Linked DNA regions of Homo sapiens: all the other regions are linked to region 1. The links are contacts of gene promoters, found by promoter capture Hi-C in blood cells and fetal thymus (Javierre and others, 2016). All regions are on one chromosome and are shown on one strand. Each heading gives the region's core, a stretch centred on a gene start or on the middle of the fragment in contact. The rest is flanking DNA. Distances are from core to core; before and after follow the strand shown.

What was found. Contacts are between HindIII fragments. The CHiCAGO score rates a contact against its expected background, and 5 or more counts as called.
Region 2: a contact is called between a fragment that was not itself captured here and the fragment with the promoter of TBX4 in region 1, in 1 of 17 cell types (total CD8 T cells). The highest score is 5.1, in total CD8 T cells.
Region 3: a contact is called between a fragment that was not itself captured here and the fragment with the promoter of TBX4 in region 1, in 2 of 17 cell types (M0 macrophages and M1 macrophages). The highest score is 6.4, in M0 macrophages.

Annotation. Positions count from the first base shown.
Region 1 is chr17:61,451,122-61,453,821 of GRCh38, reverse strand. TBX4 (T-box transcription factor 4) reads right to left here and starts at 1,400. Exons shown (of 9, transcript NM_001321120.2): 1 at 1,245-1,400. It overlaps LOC124904042 (a long non-coding RNA gene), which reads left to right. Exons shown (of 2, transcript XR_007065872.1): 2 at 1-580. RefSeq lists an enhancer at 589-1,430. The HindIII fragment of the contact is 10,401 bases long and covers 1-2,700 here.
Region 2 is chr17:60,857,024-60,859,723 of GRCh38, reverse strand. All of the region lies in intron 7 of BCAS3 (BCAS3 microtubule associated cell migration factor), which reads right to left. Among named protein-coding and RNA genes, the nearest start is that of BCAS3, 180 kb to the right of the region's middle. The HindIII fragment of the contact is 1,511 bases long and covers 677-2,187 here.
Region 3 is chr17:60,711,238-60,713,937 of GRCh38, reverse strand. The region is part of intron 5 of BCAS3 (BCAS3 microtubule associated cell migration factor); the gene reads right to left. Among named protein-coding and RNA genes, the nearest start is that of BCAS3, 35 kb to the right of the region's middle. The HindIII fragment of the contact is 384 bases long and covers 1,143-1,526 here.

The DNA of each region.
Region 1 (2,700 bases), core at 151-2,650:
TACTTCTTGTTATCTAACCACAATTTGTTTTGTTAGGCTTGCTCATAACACTCCAGGTATTATTCTTCAACACACCCCGACAGTATCTTGTTACTTTGTCATTATTTGTAATGTTACAGATCTGAACTCGCTAGTTACTCATCACATCATTACTTCTTGTTATTTTGTCATACTTTGTAATATTGTTGTAGCTCTTAATACTCTGATTATTTTTCATCACATTGGTACAATACTTCTTATTACTCAACCATTATTTATAATGTTCTTGTGACTATTAATACATTGGTCATAAATTGTCATATTACTCCAGCAATTCTTGTTAATATGTCTTTATTTATATTACTATTGCTCCTAAGATTTTAGTTAATATTTCTTTTAATAGTTCACTGTAGTATCAATAATACATTATATTATTATATCACTACCACTAATAGTATTTCCCTTAATAGTATTTTCATTGTTCATCTTTCTCCTACAGTTCGTTTGCTAGTTTCCTACAGTTTGGTAATTTGTTACACTATTACTATATGTTATATTAGTGCAATTGGTTTTAATAAACAGTCCTTACATTGTTCCTCTATTTAGAATTACTTTGTCTTTAATCCTTTTAAAAATTGTGATTACTATTTTCACTTGATTCTGAAAGTGACTATGATTGTATTATTTGGAAGTTCACGTGTTATATCAGTTATGCCGATTAGCCCTTTCTTTGGTAATTGTTCACATTCCAATAATCTTTAATCATCGATCATTATTTATATATAATGTTCCTTGCTTTAATTTTGACTAGTCTATTGCATCAAAGGCTCTGAGTCTAGTGTTCTGATCACTCACATATCTACACGGATTTTCGCTCCAGTACCGGGGCCCTCTTCCTTGGCCTTGCATATTCTGCAAACACCAATTTCCAGGCCACCGCTCCGCCTGTCACGGCCTTGTTCTTAGGGTGCTGGCGCTGTCGATATTTCTATGCTCTTGGATCTCTAGACCCAATTCATCGCGTTACTCAGAGAGGAGGGCTCGTGCCCCAACTACTGGGTGTCGGGCCGAGGCGGCGGCCCGACCCAAGGCACTTCGCGCCGCCTTCCTGCAACTTTGACCGCCCCTGAAGTTCTTCCCCGGGTCGCGTGACTCACCCCTTTCCAGCTCATCCTCCTGTCCGTCCCCGCAGCCTAACCCTGAGCCCCTGTGGCCCCAGCCCCGCACGCCCAGCTCGTCCCCACTCGGCTGGAACCCACACTCACCCTAATTGCGGTGCCGCATGCGGAGGCGCCAGCGGCCCGAGGTCCCCTGCAGGTTCGGGTCCGAGGAGCGCGGGACGGCCGGGGCTCCGACTCCGCGCCGCTGGGTCAGGGTCCAGCTGCCTGCCGTGCCCTCGGGGCTGGACACATCCCGGCTCTGGAGCGGGCCCTTGATCTCCAAGGCTGCACTTTGGGGCCTCAATTCCCTCCTCCTCCCTCCCTCCCTCTGGGGCCGCCCCCCCTCCGCGCTGACGTCGCCGCTGTCAATCAGTCTGCGCCCGCTGTCCCCCGGGGAGGGGGGCTCCAGGGTTCCCCGGCGTCGCGGTCCCCAAGATCCCGAGCCCCACGCGAGCCGCCGGCTCCTCCACCGCGCGGCCCAGTGCCCTCCTCTTGGCCCTCGGGCCCCGCGAGCCGGGTAGGGGCTGGGAGCCCCGCATGGTTTAGATTAGAGAGGCGGGAAGCAAGGGCGAGCAGCCCGGCTCTCAGCCGAGGCTCGACAACCAGGAGGGCTCGCCTGGCCCCGCCGTGCCCGAAGACTAGGACGCTCCACGACCGGGTCTGGCCACCCCCTGCCGGCGCCCGCTTCCAGGCAGCGGCTTCTACGGATCCCCGGCCGCAGAGCCCCGCTCCCCAAGCCCTGCTCCCAGCTGTGCGCGCTGTTCATTTGGGAGCCCCGGTCCCGAGGTCGCAGGCGCACACGCGCCTCACAGGCCCACGCTCCGCTTCCCTACCATGCCCACCACGCGGCCTTGCACTTCCAGGCCCTGGGCACGGCCCTTCTGCTCACCCGCCCTCCTTGTCCCGGCCCAGGGGGCCGCGGGCGCTGGACCCGGCCTGGCGCGCCTCGAAGTCGGCCGCGGAGGTCAGGGGTGAGGACTGGGAGGAAGCCCGGTGGCCGGGTGCGGGGCGGCGGCGGCAGGGAAGTGCTGGGCCGGCCTCTGAGTGGAGCCGAGTCCGGCTCGGGCCTTGACAGAGCCCAGGCCGGGCTGCAAGGTGCCAGGCTTGGCAGAGCCTCCTGGGGAAACTGCGGCCCAGGGCCAGGATTCCGCGGCAGCTCCTTGAGATCCTGGAGAGCTGAAGAGGAAGCCCAATGCCTGCCCTAGTCTAGGAAGTGGAGACTGGGGAGCGTCCTGCTCCCAGCCACCCGGTTCTTTCCGCCTCAGAAACGGAGTCCCGCTCAGCACCTAGACCTCCCTGCCCAGCCTCTGAGCTCTCTGTCTCCACTTACCTCTGTTTCTCTCTGTCTGTACCTCCCACAGGACGCTGCCTTTCCACTAGCAGACGGACCCATGCGGACCCCAGCCCGTGCCCCAGCCTCCCCGCCTGTCACATGCCCAGAATCCTGGGGCAGAAATAGGCCTGCCCACCCATCTGCAAAGACAGCAGAATCCTCATCAATAAGGATCCCCAGAGTGGTCCCTTAGTGCTTAGCATGGGCTGCATCCCTCCCTCCACCAGT
Region 2 (2,700 bases), core at 183-2,682, 590 kb after region 1:
GGTCGTGCACACCTGTAATCCCAGCTACTTAGGAGGCTGAGGAAGGAGAATCGCTTGAACCTGGGAGGTGGAGGTTGCAGTGAGCTGAGATCACACCACTGCACTCCAGTCTGTGCGACAGGAGCGAGACTCCATCTCAAAAAAAAAAAAATGTGGTACATATTCACCACAGAATACTACACAGCATAAAAAAGAACAAAATCGTGTCCTTTGCAGCAACATAAATGCAGCTGGAGGCCATTATCCTAAGCGAATTAATGCAAGAACAGAAAACCTAATACAGAATGCTCTCACTTCTAAGTGGGAGCTAAACAATGAATTCACATGGACACAAGGAAGGGGACAACAGACACCGGGGCCTACTTGAGGGAGGAGGGTGGAAGTAGAGTGAGGATCAAAAAACTACCTATCGGGTACTATGCTCACTACCTGGGTGACAAAATAATCTGTACACCAAACTCCAGTGACATACAATTTACTGATGTAACAAACCTGAACACGTACCCCCAGAACCTAAAATAAAAGTTGGAAAAAAAATTATTTATCAAGTTTTTCTTGCTAACTCTCTTGTACATATTAAGTCATATGTTTATTTTCTGTATCAATGTTGTTTTAATGTTTAATTTTAATGTCAGCATTAAAATTAATGTTATAACATTATAATGTGGGCTAAGCTTACATTAGCTCTAAAATAAATGATTTCATGCATGAAAAATAAAAAATAAAGGTGTTCATAATAAATAAAATGACGATAATTCTATGATAACTGTTGTAGAAGCAAAAAGAAGAATACAGTTTTTTAATGGCCCTAATATGTTTAAAGATACTTGATTAAAGAAGATATACAGATAGCAAGTAAGCACATGAAAAGATGTTCAACATATTTAATTATCAGGGAAATGCAAGTTGAAACCACTAATGGATACCACTACACCCAATAGAATGACTAAAATTTTAAAAACTAGTAGTACAAAGTTATGGCAAGAATGCAAACTAATTGAAGCCCTCACACATTACTGCTGGAGACGCAAAATGGTACAGTCACTCTGAAAAATAGTTTACCAGTTTGTAAAAAAATTAAACATACATTTTCCATATGTCACAACTAGGTATTTTATTAGCCATAATAAAAAGCCTAGAAACAATTAAATGTCCATCAATAGGTGAATGGACAGTTACATATTAATGCAATGAAAAGTACTCAGCATTTAAAAAGAACAAATTATCTATAAAACAACAAAAGTGAATCTCAATACCATGACTGTGGGAGTAGGGAAGCTATACATAAAAGTCTACACACTGTATGAGTCCCTTCTATGAAAAGTTAAAAAAAAAAACAACAGCCACAACTATAATAATAGGAAGCAAATCAGTGTTGCAAGAGAGAGGGAAAGGAGGAAGGTATGGAGCACAAAGTGGCACGAGAAACTTTTGGTGTGACAGAAATGTTAGTGTATCATTTTTATGATGGTAGTTACACAAATGCATACAATTGGAACAACTGGAGGTGGGAGAGAATCTTGTATAAGCCTGAACTTCAATCTCTAAAATTGACACAAAGCAAAAATTATTTATGTTCCCTACAAATTAATCCAGTCCTCTGCTGATAAGGAATGAGTTAATAATGAATGAAATCTAACATTTTGCCTGACCAACTAGGAGGGGAAAAAAGCAGCCTGTCGCCTTCAATTAGGAGCTCATGATGGCTACAACACACTAGATACTGGAACTCCGATCACTTCACTGGCATCATCCATACAATGTCACAACTGAGAATCTTCATGCAACAAGCCTTCATTAGAAACAGACAAAACAAATGTTACGAAAGCTCAGTTTATAGATAACTGAACAAAATTTGTCAGAACCATAAACTATTTATATATGAGAAAAACCTCTCATTCAACAACTAATAGGAAAAGATAATTCTTTAAAATAAGGGTCTTCACAAATTCACACATTCACAAAGGAGTCAGCACGTTTCCTGCCAATAACACAGTTGGGTGCACGCCCGACATATTCTTTTGTTCTCTGTTTTCTCTTTTGAAAAGCCTTGACCATTTCCATGGAACATAGCAAGACAATCTTAATTTTCCTCATGGGCAGGCTGATGAGAGTGCTTTCCATAAAATAATCAGTATGCATGCCCCATAAGGTGTTATACTAAAATAGACAGACATGAAACAAGCTTTTATTTTCTATCATACAAGCCAAAAATGGTGTAGAAAACAGTGCCACAAGAAAGTTTTACACAGAATACAGTCTTCATGTGACTTCTACAGAGCTCTAATGGATTATTTTTAAAGGATTGTGTTTGACATTTAAACATGGGGCTATGACCTTAAAGGTAAACCTAATAGCATAAAGTGGGGGGAAGTTCCTAGAAGAAGTTTTTAGAGCCAAGTTTAGAATGTAACTGAATCTACTGTAAGCAAATATCAGAGGCTGTAGGAAAGGCAGGAAGGATGCAATTTTTATTAATAAATGCTTCTTTAAAAATCTGTAATTTGTGCCCAGGATCCCATATATACATATAAAAATGCATAGTAAAGGCATTTTACACTATTCATGATAAATGTAAATAGAAATGAATGCAAATTCTCTTTAACTGACCTTTTCTTTATGTAAGTAACTTGTTTTATAGTGAATTACTGAGCATGTGTGTTGAAATTTTATCAGAACAATCTGTTACCTACTGTACAT
Region 3 (2,700 bases), core at 85-2,584, 740 kb after region 1:
CACTTGAACCCAGGAGGCAGAGGTTGCAGTGAGCCGAGATCACCCCTCTGCACTCCAGCCTGGGCAACAGCGTGAGACTCAGTCTCAAAAACAAACAACAAACAAAAAAAGCAAATGCAAATGCAATTGTCCATCAGCATCTGTGCTGACTGGTTCCACAAACCACCCATGAATACCAAAGTCCATCATGCTCAAGTCCTTTACATAAAATGGCATAGTATTTGCATATAACCTTTACACATTCTCTCATATACTTTAAGTCATCTCTTAATTACCTATAATACCTAGTACAATGTAAATGCTATGTAAATAATTGTTATACTGCATTGTTTAGGAAATAATGACAAGAAAGAAAACTCTATACGTGTTCAGTACAGACACAACCATCCTTTTTTTAATTCCAAATATTTTCAATCCACAGTTGGTTGAATCTGCAGATGCGCAACACACGTATATAGAGGGCCAATCGTATTAATTACAGACTATAAAGATCCATGAGAGTCATTTTTTTCTAGGTTGGCCAACATAGGCTCCCCACTGTCTAGCATATATGCTCATGTAATGAATAATGGTTATAAGTTTCAGAAGGGTTCTGACAGAGTAATGGCTAACAAAGTAAAATGTAAAAGATAACTATGAGTATTTGAAGGTACATACTAATCTTTTACAAATGAAAACACTGGGGCTCAGAAAACGATATTCCAAATTCTGGCATTTTGGCATGCTGAGCATTTTGAGCTAAAGGAAATTAAAAGGCCTCAGAAGTCCTCAGAACCAAGGACTTTCTGGTGTTCTCCTGCTTCTCCCTCACAAGCACAAGGAGGGACTCTCTCAAGTTCCCTTTCCTGAAGCTCTTCTAGAAGGAACACAATTGCCTCCCTCTCCCCTTTCTGAAATTTCTTCAACCAGAGAAGATTAATCTCAAATTACAGGATGGAAAACCGAGAAATGACACCACACCTAGACAGACTTTGTCACAGGCTATCATCTCTGCTCAGGTCCCACTTCCCAAGTGAATCACTTAGAAACAATTTTCTGCTCTTTGGGCCCATTCAACTTTCCTGAGAATGATTTACTAACTCTCAAAACTGACGACATTCCTCCATCTCCTTCTCCCCTATGAAGAGAGCACTATGTAAGCTTCAGCCATTTGGCCCTTCTTTGAGTCTCATATTTTATGTGGCTCTCATGCATGTGTATGCTTTTTCTCCCATTAGTCTATTGTCAATTTATTTCAGAGGGAGAGGGGATAATTCCCTTCACCTCTACAAAAACTAAACCTTAACTACAAAACTACTCACATGTCATATCTTTAGCAATCACATTTGAAAAGTGATGAAGTATAGCTCTTAGATCATGGGCTTTGAATTTGAATTCAGACAGAACTAGGTTTAAATTCTAGTTCCACCTCTTAAAAGCAGTGTGACCTTACCACCTGTAAAACAAGGTAACTTCTACATTAGATGAGATAATATGTATATAAACCTCTTTGACCATAATGAGAGCTCAATGAAATATAAGAAGCTTATTTTCCCAGATTGTCTTTTTTTTTTTTCCTTCCCAAGACAAGATCTCACTCTGTCACCCAGGCTGGAGTGCAGTGGCATAATCATGGCTCACTGCAGCCTCAACTTCCCAGGCTCAGGCAATCCCCCTGCCTCATCCTCCCGAGTAGCTGGAACCACAGGCGCATGCCACTACGCCTGGTTAATTTTTAAAAATTTTTTGTAGAGACAAGGTCTCACTATGTGTTTTTGTTTTTGTTTTTGTTTTGAGACAGAGTCTCACTCTGTCACCCAGGCTGGAGTGCAGTGGCGCAATCTTGGCTCACTGTAACCACCGCCTCCCGGGTTCAAGCGATTCTCCTGCCTCAGCCTCCAGAGTAGCTGGGACTACAGACATGTGCCATCATGCCCGGCTAATTTTTTTTTTATTTTTAGTAGAGATGGGGTTTCACCATGTTGGTCAGGCTGGTCTCGAATTCCTGACCTCAAATGATCTGCCTGCCTTGGCCTCCCAAAGTACTGGGATTACAGGCATGAGCCACCGCACCCGGCTGGTCTCACTGTGCTGCCCAGGTTAGTCTCAAACTGCTGACCTCAAGTGATCCTCCTGCCTCAGCCTCCCAAAGTGCTGGGATTACAAGCGTCAGCCTCTACACCAGGCCCTAATTCATGAAATAGTGGTACTACAACAATATACACTTGGCCAAAGAAAATTCTATCAAAAAAAAAATTATTCAAGTCTCTCAAAATATAATCTAGGCATAAGGAGAAATAAAGACCTTAATTACTCAAAGATAAACAGAAATTAACTTTAAACTATTAAAATTAATATCCCCAATTATAACCAAAACAAGTGGGCAGTTAAAACAACCTGAATACCACCAAAGGAATGTGTTCAATCCAGTCAACACCCCTAATCACACAGGCTCAACCCTCTTGTTAAAGGTATAACTTCCTCTGTCTTCAGTACTGTCAACAAACAGCATAATGAAGCAAAATGTAGTCTCTATTAATAAGAAAAAGTTACATTTACAAAACCCTTTTGTTTTATCACAACCTAGAAATATTTCTCTCCGTAAGAAAAAAAAACACTGCCAAATTTTAAGTACTTTCTCCACGCCTTTGGAACAATACCAAAATTACAAAGAACATTGAGGGACCTTGAAAAATGTCAACTACACTTCCCAAAAGTCAA